Regions from separate parts of the Homo sapiens genome. Here region 1 is linked to region 2. The links are contacts of gene promoters, found by promoter capture Hi-C in human tissues and cell types (Jung and others, 2019). All regions are on one chromosome and are shown on one strand. The core of a region is centred on a gene start or on the middle of the fragment in contact, and the rest is flanking DNA. Distances in the headings are between cores, read along the strand shown.

What was found. The method cuts DNA at HindIII sites, captures the fragments that hold promoters and counts their contacts. A contact is called where the count stands out against the background at its distance.
Region 1: a contact is called between a fragment that was not itself captured here and the fragment with the promoter of RFESD in region 2, in 1 of the 25 tissues and cell types used here (lymphoblastoid cells).

The regions. Positions count from the first base shown.
Region 1 is chr5:96,441,982-96,448,484 of GRCh38, forward strand. All of the region lies in intron 4 of LOC101929710 (a long non-coding RNA gene), which reads left to right. It also overlaps a transcript of CAST not described here and the pseudogene LOC102724070. Among named protein-coding and RNA genes, the nearest start is that of PCSK1, 12 kb to the left of the region's middle. The HindIII fragment of the contact is 3,815 bases long and covers 1,683-5,497 here.
Region 2 is chr5:95,642,562-95,649,566 of GRCh38, forward strand. It overlaps RFESD (Rieske Fe-S domain containing), which reads left to right and starts at 4,216. Exons shown (of 6, transcript NM_001131066.2): 1 at 4,216-4,256. The HindIII fragment of the contact is 8,810 bases long and covers 1-7,005 here.

The sequences.
Region 1 (6,503 bases), core at 2,340-4,839, 800 kb after region 2:
TTTTCACAAGGATTTCCATCTATTGGCTTCTCACTACACCATTATTACCATTCCCACTTCACAGGCAAGTAAACTGAGTCACAGGTAAGCAAGGCTAACAGAGTTTGCATAGATAATCTCACAGAGCTAACACCAGAACTCAGGTCTGTAGTGCTTCTTCTACCTTCCACTTATGTGGAATAGTTTGATGTTTAATATTTTAAGCAGGTAAGTATTTGAGTCCTCTCTACCCCTTACCAGCACTGTTACCTGGAATAGCTCCTGAATCTTCAGCTTCCTCATGAAACAGAGGAAATAATACTATTTATGAGATTTGAATGGACTAAATTATGTAAAGCACTGAGAACATTGCTTAGCCCATAGTAAGTACTCAATAAAATCTAGCTGTCATTATGATTGGTCTGTCTTCTGCCATTTTCTTTGCTTTGCATTGAAGAGAACTGTCCATGATTTTAGATTACACTCAGAAGCCCTATGTTTCTAGGTTTATGTTATCCTAAAATGTTATTACCATTTGTTGCTTTGGTAAGACTAGGAACTTGGAAACTACGTGAGTTAAATGGACAGTATCCCTGGCATTAATGCCCAACGTATTGTAGGACAATCATTTTCAGATGGTTTACTATGCATAATACTTACGTGGATTAAGTATCAAGGTAGTTTAAAGTGCAGCTTCCTAAGCATCGCTCCTCCCATTCTGATTCTGGAATGGCCTGAGGCCCAGGAATCTACAAACTTCTACAGGTACCCTTGGAGGTCGTAAGGAGCGCTGTGAAAAGCCTTAACTGGCATTGGCATTTACCCTACCACTGCTGCTGCTGTTGCTGCTGCTTCACTTTCTTTTTCTCCTCTTCTTCCTCCTGATCTACCTCCTGCTTCTTTTTCTCCACTTCCTCTTCTTCCTTCTTTATTATTGTCATCACCGTCATTCTCTTCATTCTCTTTGTCTTCCCCTCCATTTCTTCTCATTCTTTTCTTTTTTCTCCTTCTTCTTTTTGTAACCATTTCTAATAGACTACTGGAGGTTATTTTCCACTGTTAGGGTAGCTCTATTATTATCTCTTCAGAGAAAATGCCACTGAACTTGGGGGAAAAAAACAGAGTAATGACTCAATGAAAATATGTTTATACATAACTTCCCAGGAGCCAATTAGGAAGATAATCATTAGGTTCAGGTGATCCTTTGCTCATGCATACATCTGTAAGGCTCTGGCCCTCTCACCAAGAGTAAAATAGCCCATTCTTGTTTCCAGAGCTTATTAATGCTGGATTCAAATATAATGCCCTGAAAGTACATTTTAAAACCTTTCCTATGAAGATGCATAACTAGACGCAGGATCATTATTCTTACAATCCAATAAAATTTATGTATATCAATCTTTTGCTTCAAGCCAGCCAGGCACTCCAAGAACAATGTTAACAGTTTCTACATCCTGCCCCAACACCCAACCTATTACATCTAGATTCTGGGAACCTAGTCAAGAAAGCCACATGCCAATTTTGAAGCTACTTAAACTAATCAATTGTGATCACCAATTTGGATACTATATCTGTATAGCTTCAAAGAAAGTATATGTTTTGTAATCACCGAATTTAAAAAGTATAAATAGGCATTGAAGTAACTTTATCAGTGGTTATCGATTATTGCTGCACTTAGTATCTTGAAAACAACACTGATGCCCTGGCCCTAAGCCCACAGATTGTGATTTAATTGGTGTGGCATGGGTCACACCAGGTGATTCTATTGGGCATCATTGATATACATGAATCAAATTTATTTAACAATTGCCTACGCTCTATATCCTTCTGCAAGTCACGGACAGAGATTAACCCTAGAAGTAAAACGAAGCAGAGAATTTTAAGAATACTTTAGTCTCAACTACATGCATATTTTAGGGAAAGTGAAATATTAATCTAGCATTTCTTCTTAACTATCTCAATTCTCTATTTCATGTTGCTAGGGTATACTTGATCTTGTCAAAATTTTTCCAGCATCTAATAACACATAGAACCTCAAGGGCATTCCAAATGAATCACAGCAATATAAGAAATGAAGGAAAAAGCAAATTAAGTTTGGTCAACAATTTCTTTTGGTTGAATCAGAGGTGTCACAGAAGCAGCCACAGGGATTGAGAGTCCACCCCACCTTGCCCCTTATGGAGCTTGTAAAGACTAACTGGACTGACTCACATAAAGGGGCATTCTTTGCACTAGTCTGTGAGTCTAGGTTATGCCTTCACTTCTCATCAAAAATAGGGGCATTGAGATCATGACTTGCTAATAAGCCTCATGTAACAGATTTTTCACTGTATTGGTGATGGAAGTAAGACTCATTTAATTTAGTGTTTGAGAACTTGCTACCTGCCTTGATGTTCTGACACTTAAAGTTTTACTGTTTTCTATGTTTTGATGTTTAAAGAACTGTATAAATTGAATTATTCTCTCATTTTATCTCAAGCTGTACAATCTGCTGGTTTCTGTAATTTTAAATATCCTCTTTCCTTCAAATATTACCACCAAATCATTGTCTATAACAGATAAAAATTATTCTTTATCTTATTTACTTTTTTCTTTATGCCAAAATTTCTGAAAATTTTTTCTCAACTAGAATTATTTTCTCCATCATATTGTTAATTTCTAAAATATCAGTTTTATTTTATAAATGTTCCTTTTAATTTCTTCCTGTTCTTCTCTCATGGTTATAATATCTTCTCATGTCTGAGAATATTAATGCTAGGGGGTTTTATTTGTTTGCTTGTTTTGTTTTATTTATTTTTTTATTTTTTGCTTTTTTTCCTGCAAAAATAAGGTGACCACTATGGTGTTTTTTCCCCTATGGTTCAGTCCCTTTTCTCATGGTAAAGACATTCCTCCAATTTCCAGTTATCCATGTTGCTAGATCACAGTTGAGAGCGAGAAAAGAAAATCCGTAATCATTTAAATGGGAACTGGCAACTGTGAGTTTTGCTGCAGGATGGCCTGGCCAGATAGAAGAGTTGAGAAAACCTCAATGCCAGAGTCTTTAAGTCTTTCCTCTTGGGTTAGTTGGATTCCAGAGAGAAGACTCCCTGACCTGCAATCTTCAGCAAAAAGGGCCAGCCACCAGAGGAAAAGGACAAGAACCCTGAGGACTGCACTCACTGTGCCTCACTTAGTTCCGTGTTTCAGTGTGAAGCCTCCACACTTAACTGTGCCTGGTGTCTCTGGGGAAAACACCTTCAGTCTCTTTGCTGGGTGACAAAGGGATGGTTTTCTGGCAATAAAAAGTGATGAGAGAAGCTGGGGAAGATTGCTTCTGAGGTACACACACCATGGTGGTGTGTACCTGTGGTCCCAGCTACTACGCAGGCTGAGGTGGGAGGATGGCATTAAGGCCAGGAGTTCAAGGCAGTAGTGAGCTATGAAAGAAAGAAAAAGAAAGGCTTTATGTAGCAACTTTATCTTCTTGCTCTGCAGAAAAGAACTGGACTCATTGCCCAGACACATAATGGTTCCCTTTTGAATGTATTCTAGACCTCCATGGGCAGTCATCTGAAATGGTTCCTGTTTTTCTAACTTTACCTCTCTTTTCCTCTTCATACAGTTTCTTCATAGATTTTAAAAAATCTTTTCTCTTCTCCCAGTGTTCCACTCTTCTATTTTGGGAGCATGCCACGGCTCACTCTGGAATTCTTAAGTTCCCAGTCAGGTCTTGTCCTGTAAATTTCCTCAGTCTTGTGCATTTTCTGCAGATCACTGGCATTCTTTTTTCTGCTGTTTTTGATGCTGGGTTCTGAACAAAAAGAAGCCCAATGTCCATCCCATGGTACGTGTGAATCTGGGTAAACCCGGGGGTAATGGAGGTGAAGTGTTCTACTTAGAACTGCAAAATAATCTTTTTCTTTTGAGGCAGGGTCTTACTCTGGCACCCAGGCTGGAGTGCAGTGGCAGATCTGGGCTCACTGCAGCCTCGACCTCCAGGACTCAAGCAATCCTCACACTTCAGCCTGCTGAGTAGCTGGGATCATAGGCATGTGCCACCACTCCTGGCTAATTTTGTTTATTTTTTGTAGAGACGGAGTCTCCCTATGTTACCCAGGCTGTTCTCAAACTCCTCAGCTCAAGCTCAGACTTCCAAATGATATAGTGACTCTCTTTAAAGTGCTGCGATTACAGGCATCAGCCACCATGCACAGCTCCAAAATAATTTTTAGTGTACAAAAAAAAAAAAAAAATCACAGAACTCCGTAGATTACCTTTCTGAGACAACCCCTCATTTGGTCTACATAAGAATCCTATATTCTTATTGTTAATATAACTTGACTTTATTGTGGTACAAGAACTATTTTTTCATAACCATGTATTACATTGCAAACCGCTCTACCATTAACATGGCTTTAAGGGATATCATGGCCAATTGTGTCTCTGTAATTTTGGGGCTTTTTTCTGTGTTTGCAGAAAGGAGGGACTGGACAGCCCCATCACTCATATGTTTGTGGCAGGATGAAATTTTGAGATATTAACCAGGGTTCCCCAAGCTCCTTTCCTACTCAGTCAGCAGCAGGAATTGCTTCAGAGAGGATGCAGGGTTTTAAACCAAGAACACAAAAGGAAAATAAGCAGTCGGTGCTCAGCTTTTGCATCTCTAAAAATAAAATTTAAATCTCACTGTGGAGATGGAAATCTATAAAGTCAAGGTCATTGATATTCAAGATCCAGTTTCTTTTGAGCAGCAAGAAGCCCAGCCCAAAGGAAGTCAGGCATAAGGTTTGTGCCATAAGCAATGGAATGGAAAGAGAATAGATGAAGAGTCAGGCTGCCGTATCCTAGAGACTGGATAAATGTTGCCTGGGCTAGAAAAAAAGAGTTACCTTGAAGAAAAAGCATCTGTGGAATATGAGCATGCCACCTCAGTTTCTGTCCTCATCAGACCAACATCTAGAGAAGAAAGAGGGTTACTGAGCTTCCTGTCGTTTGGGGGATTTGGGAGGAAAGGTAGGATCCTAAGTACTCAACAAACAGAAAATCACAAGCACTGGCCAATTAGAAGAGATGCCCAATTAATCCAAATGATCATTCTGGTGCATGTTGGTTAAATTACGGACCTGGAGAGGGCATGAATGCCTGGCTCCCATCGGAGAATTCAGTGTGGCAGCACTCTTGGATAGGTGCTGCACAGCATGGTGGCAAAGGAGGAATTAAGCAAAATGAGCCCAGGCGTAAGAAGCCATGAGACACAGCTTTGAGTTTCTCTCAGACTTGCAAGTGATACAGTGACAGCTGAAAGCATGCAGGCCCTAGGGGCCTTGGATGTGGCTGAGAGAGCACCAGTGGACTTGAGGAAGCTTAAACCCATGTTAGGACCTCAGGCAGTGGCAGAAGTCATGGGCATAAGGACCAATTTCCAGAGACTAGGAAGTTAAATAGCAGCTGATGCCAGCAGAAGGCACAGAATAGCCACCGACTACATATACCCAGCACACACAAGTGTGCACACACACTCATCCACATACACACCCATCCACACACTCACACACATCCACACACGTGCCTGCATGAGCCCTCTGTGGAATTTAAATGTTACTCACGGGCAGAAAATAGACAAGGGCAGAACCTTAAAATTGCCTGAGTTTAAAATGAAAATGACTGAGGAATAATTTGACTGGGTTTACTTGGGAACACTTGGTCAAAGCTTCTGATTTTAGAAGGAAATATGAGTTACAATAAAAATTACATTTATTTATAGGAAAGTAAAGTATATGTTACCCCTTGGATGCCTACTCAAGCATGTGGGAGTTGTGTGTGTGTAAAATATATCACATATATTTTTAATATATGTGATATCAGCTGAGGTGCCCTGTCAGTGACATTCTAATTAAATTGGCTCTAATGCTGTCCACTGTGTGTTGAAACCCCATGTCCGCTCTGATCTTTATGGAAAACATAAAACAAGAAGTAAAAACCTGCCCTGCTAGAACAGCTCTGTCCTACATCAGTGATTTTCAAACATTTTGAGTGCTGGAGACATCATTCTGGATGGAACTCTCATATGTTAAAAAAAAAAAAAAGATAAAACCAGGGCCATTCTGGCTGTGCAGAGATGAGGGACAAGAATCAGCTCAGGGCATCTGTCTGGAATATTTTTATGCAACTGAAATGCCCTTACAAAGAAAGGCATTTTGAAAGCTACTGCTCATTGCTATCCTAGGTGAATTCCAGAAAGCGTATTAACATGTCTGGGGGCTATAAATCTTAAAGCCTTAGGTTTGACTCCAAATGGAACAGGAAATCTATGCATAAAATATTTCTAATTATGTCCCTTGAGGTTTTGAGGCTAAGTGTTTGTGATGCTAGATTTAAAGGATAAGTGAAAGCAAGTGACCAAATGTTTTGCTCTGGCATTTGAAGACCATCCTGTCAGCTATCCAAAAAGCAACTTGCTATATTTCATTCATTCATTCATTCATTCATTCACTCAACAAATGTATATCGCGCTTTTATCAAGTACTAGGCACTGTGCTAGC
Region 2 (7,005 bases), core at 2,966-5,465:
TGGAGATTCACTAGATTCTGGGACTCATTACAGTTACGCTATTACAGAAACGTAGTAAGGATACACAGCTGGATTGTAAAGAAAAAGACTCAGGCAGAGCATGGAAGACTTCGTGTGCAGGATTCCTAAGTGTTCTCCCTTTCGCGAGGGGTCACACAGACTGCATTCTTCCTCCAGAAATGAAAATGTAGAAACATGCCTGCAATGTTTTTGCCAGGGAAAGACTGAGCCTCAGCAGCCAGAGTTTTTACTGGACATTGGTCACAGGCACCTCTGCCTAGCAGGTACCAAGTTCTAGAATCTCAGAAGGAAAAGCAAGTGCATTGTTTGTACAAATAGCTTACGCACAGGGAATCACTTTTATTATTTAGGGAAAGCTTTGTATGTGTAGGTGTAGGTGTCGGATAAACTCACCTGATAGTAATAATTTATGCATACCCTCAGAATGACCCCATATGGCAGATGCACCTGAATGTATGTTCTGAGCTAGGGAATCTGGGAGTAGCTAACCTGAAGAGTCATTCTTTATCTATGAGAAACATCTAATATAGGGGACTGAGGCCCTGAATTTTGGGATACATGAAGGTTGCCAGGTGGAGATTGTTAGGGGGAGGGTATAAAGTGAAAATACCATATAAACTGCATGATGGTTGCAGGCGGTTGCAGTTTTCCTGCCCATCCCACCACCACTGGACTCTGTAAGCACCTAATAAAACACCATGTTTTGTTTGCTGGCTCTAGGTCTCTTCTTCGGCCTCTTGAACCTGGTTCCTTTCCTACTGAGGTTAATAGGGCTTTGGCACGACAGTAAGGGACTGTTTACCTGCCAAGTTCTCACATGTCAGCGAAGGGCCAACCTTACAAGCAGACCTTTTTAAGGATAGCAGTCTCAGGTCAGCTATGCGAACTCCTTTCTCTACAGACGGGCAGGAAGGGGTGCGACAAGGAAAAGGGAAGAGTCAAGGAAGACATGCAGATTTCTCCCTTAAGCCTGAAGATGGACAGTGTTGTCACTTATAGAGATGGAGAAGACAAAGAAATGCAGATTTATGGGAGAGAACTAGTATTTCGATTTTGAACACAATGAAATTAGAGATAGCTATGAATTATCAGGTTAAACTATTGTATGTTATAATAAAAAACAACCTTAAAATTCCAGGGGCCTTAACATAATAAAAATTTATTTCTCACTTAAGTTATGTGACTTTCACGGCCTAGTGGAAGTTAGGAAATTGGTGGGGAGATGTAGTCTCTGTTCTGCATAGTCACTCAGGGACCCAGGCTGGTGGAGGCTCCACCATCCAGAATGTTGTTAATTCTTATGACAGAGAAAGAGGCAACTGGAGAAGTCTCATCTCAGCTTTTCTATGCTTCAGTCTACAGCCCATTGTTCAAAACTGGCCATGTGGCCGCAAAAAACTGTAAGTGGAGCTGGAAAATGTGGGGTAGTTGATGGGATATCTGGTGAACACCACTGTTTCTGCCACAATAGCCCCATAGAAATGTCAAGTAGGCATCCCCAACAAACGTATGTCTGGAGACATTCATTTAGGAGTCATAAGCACATAGGTGGTATTTAGAGCCACACTCACTGTCATGTAATCTGAGTTCCAGGGCCTAGTAAGGGCAGTATTATCACCCTTTTCTGGTGTGAAGGAGTAGGAAATCCAGATTGGTGGACACCCTTCAAACTTCCCTGTAGTGAAACTAGCAGCACACAGGTGCCTTCACTAGCAGTCAAGACAGATTGTGGCTTAGGATTGAAGGCAAGTTTTTAACTTCTCTAAGAGGGGAGTCTTGGTGCCTGAAAAGTCTGCCTAGAAACAGCCTGATGCTCACGGCAGAGGGACTAGGCTCACAACTTTCAGTTGAAACCACACATGAAGATATTGAGAGCCAAAATCAGGGGGAAAGCTGGCCACAGGAACCACTAGGTGTCACTAATAGGCCAAAGTTAGAAGCGCGGAAAAGGAAAGGCTAAAAGAACAAATGAAGGAAGGAAAGAAAAGGTAGTACCTGCCCTAAGATGGCCACAGGTGAAACTTAGTGGTAGCATTGCTAACATTGTTCTATTAAAGAAAAAAAAAAGGCAAAATAACAGTAGAAATTATGAACTTTATTCTGAACAATAATGACTTCCAAATAGACTGGATGGGTTCTTGCTGTTACCTAATGTGCATGCCTGTGTGTGAATGGTTTTGTGCATTTGTGTGTGTGTGCACTTGGGAAGTGGAGAAGGGTAGTTTATTCTGACCTCCATTATAGCTTTCCAAACATCACATGACTAACCATATGAATACTTTTGGTAGAGATAAAAGAAAGTTTCTCTTCTTTCATCCTACTTGTGTGTATATGCATGTATAACTACTGAGGTCTTCAGTTTATTCAATATCAAATTTAAGGTCGATGGATCTAAGATGTGTCCTTTTTTAATGCCCAGAATATGACAAAGCAAAAAAGGATTTCTAAAATGGCAAACCTTATTTAATCCTTCGATGACAAGCTGGGGACTACTAACACCTTCCATGTGCCAATAAAATCATTTGGGATGACTAACAGATAATGGAAATTACAATAAATCAAAATATATTTTATATCTTTGATAACTGATACATCAAAACTAGATAGTTAATTTGTGTTTGGGTCAGTGAAAAAAATGGCCAAAAGGGAAATGACCCAATAAAATATTATTGATCACCATAAAACTGTATTGAAGAGAAAAAAAACAGAAGAAACTAGCACTGGAAACAAATTATTCTGAGCTATTCAACTTCTTACATGTTGAGGCTCATTTAAAAAATGGCATTTATATAGCACACTGAGGTAAATGGACAAAGTTCCTGGGTTTCGGCTGCCCCAGTTCATTGGGCCACCCTAGAGCCTGAGATCACTATGTCACCATACTAAATACAAGTTGTAGTGTTCAACCTTGGGTTCACACTGGAATCACTCAGGAAGTTAAAAACATACATTGAATCTGCCCACTCCCTTCCCACCCCAAATAATCTGTGTTTTATTTTGTTGGTCTGGCATACAGACTGGGCATTACGACTTTTCAAAACTCCCAAGCGACTCTAAGGCATAGCCAGGGTTAAGAATCACTGCACTGGAAAGTAGTCAAGGAAATTAAAAACTTAGGCTCATCTAGTTTCCCAGCTCGGAACACAAATATGAGGGTTTTGGTGGTTTTCTTTGTTGTTGTTGTTGTCAATTCAGGGAAGTACAATGAGAAAAAAGCAAAATTGCAAAGTTCATAATATGAAAGTGAAAACTCTCCATCTCCTCCCAAAGCAACCACTATTGTTTCTTTTGATTTTTCGAGAAAAAGTTTATGTACATACCTGCATGTTTGTATTTCAAAAAATAATTGTTTACATTAAAGAGAGGACACCATATATAGTATTCTACGCTTTGCCTTTAATATTCATTACATGATGGGCCTGTCCTTTGAGTATACAGTACACAGCTACGAAGTAATTCACATGTCTGTACTGTTGTGCTGTGTTTTATTGAACCATTCCTCCGTGTTATCACTTCAGCTATTTTCACTACTTCACAGCAATAAACATTTTTTTTTTTTTTGAGATGGAGTTTCGCTCGTGTTGTCCAGGCTGGAGTGCAACGGCGCGATCTCGGCTCACCGCAACCTCTGCCTCCTGGATTCAAAGCGATTCTCCTGCCTCAGCCTCCTGAGTACCTGCGATTACAGGCCTGGGCCACCACGCCCGGCTAATTTTGTATTTTTAGTAGAGATGGGGTTTCTCCATGTTGGTCAGGCTGGTCTCAAACTCCCGACCTCAGGTGATTCGCCCGCCTCGGCCTCCCAAAGTACTGGGATTACAGGCGTGAACCACCGCGCCCGGCCTTAACATCCTTATACATGGGTTACCAGCATCGCGACGACCTTCTGCAAATATTTTTATAGGGTAAATAACTGAATGAAGTCGCTGGGCGCATCTAAAATTTGAATAAATGTAATGAGATCAACAAACAACTAAAAAGTAAACTGATGCTATCCACATTTGTCAAGTACACGAGTATGCCTGCCAGTTTGAAGGTGCTGGCGCGGCGCTGTTGGCCAGAGATCTCTATCAACCAGGGTCATCTGCCGGCAATGCCATAGAGGCGGTCCCGGGGGCGGGCCTTCTTGGGTCACGTGGACGGCCTCGCCCCGCCCCCGTCGAGGCGCCGCGCACGTCTGGAGCTCTGGCTCGTGCAGTAGCGTCACGCGGAGGCGGAGCGAGGACTCGGGGACAGTAAGTTCTGTTCTCGCCGCGCAGGGGGCGGGCTGGCGGGACCAGCTGCTTCCGGCTGGGCTGCGGGCGTGGACTCCTCATTCCGGCTGTGGCCGCGCCGCTGCGGGGCCTGAGGCCCTCTTGGGTTTTGGTTCAGCGTTAGTTAACGGTTAACCCGCCAAGGCGGGCTTCCGCCCAGGCACAGGAGACTCACCGAGCTTGTTCACCTTGAAACTTGGGCCACACCTGAGACCTGCCACCTAAGGGGGGTACGCGGGTCGTTTTTAACAAGCTTTCATGGCATTTGTGCCATGAAAGCTCTAAAGTATAGAAGCTGCTCCAGGGCTTCCGCAGCCCCGGCCGTCCTGGAGATACTCGCCTCCTGGAGTCTGTGTCGAGAATTTGCAGCACCTGGACAGCCACGTGCAGTCTCAGAACTGCAGGCGGTCTTTACCGAAATGTTAAACACAACTTGAAGTTAGGCAGGATAACTGCCAGAGCTGGATGGACCTTAGAGGTGCCAGCTAACGCGCTGTGAGCGTTTTCTGCGGTTAGGCCTGCTCTAAACATTTGACATGTGTTAAAGCATTTATGTGCTTTACCCACACCCCTATGTGGCGGGCCCTTCTTAAAGTAAAAGAAACTGCAGCACAGCGAAGTTAAGCAACTTGCCCCAAATCACGCAGAACTGGGATGCAAACCCAGGTCTAGCTCACTCGTGATCACAATTCAACATCATACGATGGTGCTGATTTCCAGAGCAGCTCTGTGACTTTATATAAAATTATTGGGCAAGCGTTCAATTGTAAACATTCGTGAACATAGCTGTTGCACATTAGCGTTCCTTTTTTTTTTTAATTCAGGACCATCTTTGGTGACAAATATAAATATCAATACTATATATATCACCAATATACATATTTGCTTTGCTAAAAGGTTTCTGTGTCTTCAGGATAGTTTACTTGCAAGCCTCATGTTTTTATAAAAACGTGGGTGCTACCTGAATAAAACTAATGCCTACCCGTTGGCGGTTTTGTGAAGACTAATGAACTATTATATTCAAAGGGTCCAAGCAGTAGGCATTTACTAAAGGACAGCTAGTTTTATCTGTTATTATTCTGCCATTCAGAGAGATACCAAAACTACTCTCTAAGGCATTTCTCTTCCCTGCATGTAAAAGCAAGGGTGTCATACTTGAGATAAGCATTCTGATAATGTGTAGGCAAAGTTTCCACACTTGGTAAAAGCATCTTAGTCATGGTTCAAGACGAGTGACAAGTAAGTACGTTTCACTTCATGTTTCTTTTATCTCCCGTGTCTTGTGGAAATTTGAGTTACACTAAATATTTTTTTAAATTCCACTTGAATTTATTTCCTTTGTTGGAAAGGAATCTAATAGTGACCGAGTATCCATTTAGCTAATTTGTAATTTTATATGGAGTTAGCACCTTTAGAAACCAATTTTAGGGACAGGCCAAAAATTTTTCTCGAAGAGAACATGAAACACAACGACTAAGTTTTTCAGGGGGATGTTTTCAACTAGCCGTCAAACTGTATGAGTTGTTTAATTTTCTGTTTCATTCAGTTAAGATTCTATTATCTTAAAGTAGACTTAAAATCGAAACATATTGGGAGTTTATGAATAGTTCATCAAAATAACGATAATTAAGGTGAACACGTGGGCTTTCCCTATTGTGTGAATGGATCATGATATTCACAATAGTAAGAATAATATGGGTGTTAAATGTAAAAAGTCCTCAAATAGTATAAATAGTACCATTTAAGATACATAGAGGAAACTATTATTTGACATATAAAATTATACTTTTCTAAGCAAAATGCACAGCCATAATCATAGTTCTCTGAAACCTTTATCATTTAGCCCCAGTCTTCTCTGCTCCTTTTTTATCAGTCCCGTAAAAGTTCACCAGTTTGTCGGGTTGGAGGCAAACCTTGCAAAAACTGTAAGTTTGTAGTGACTCAAATTTGAGAAAGACCTGTATTTGGTTCTCATTTATTTGGGAGTTGGGAAAACATAATTAACTTTTGATATTATACTACATCTCTTGTATTTCGTTACTTTTTGATAGTAGTGCTTTTTTTTTTTTTTTTTTTTTTGGCCTGGAGGAAAACAACTATTCATTTATTTCCTCCTTTGGTGCCAAGTTTTGAAATTAGCTGTACAAAATTCTCAAATAGTTAATTCATGACCTATGCACAGGCACATTCTCTGAGGATAGAAAGGGCAATTTTGTTCCATTTTTCTTGGGTTTGGGGTCATTTGCTACATAAATATACATTAGGATACAACTTAAATCTTGAAAAGAATAATTTTAATTATAAGAAAAAAGTAAATACTTTTAGACATTTAAGAAATGTTTATTATCCCCTTGCTTTTCTTGATATATTTACCCTATAGTACATATATCCATGAATAATATACTGTTTGGTTTTGCCACTTTTGTGATAAAAACGGAAACATACTCTGAATTCCTTTTTAAATTTTTCACTTGCAATTATGTTTTTTGAAATTAAGCCAACTTGATGTAGAGATACATTTTTCACTGCTGTACAGCATTCCATTGAATGAACATACACATTTTCCATTCTACTGTTGATGGGTTTTGTGTTGTTTTTGTTTTTTGCTGTTATAACTATTCTTGTGTATGTTTCCTGGTGTACCTGTGTGCATTTCTGTGGCATATACCCAAAGTGGGATTATTATTATGTTTAACTTTACTAGGTAATGCCAAATTGTGGTAGCACTAAT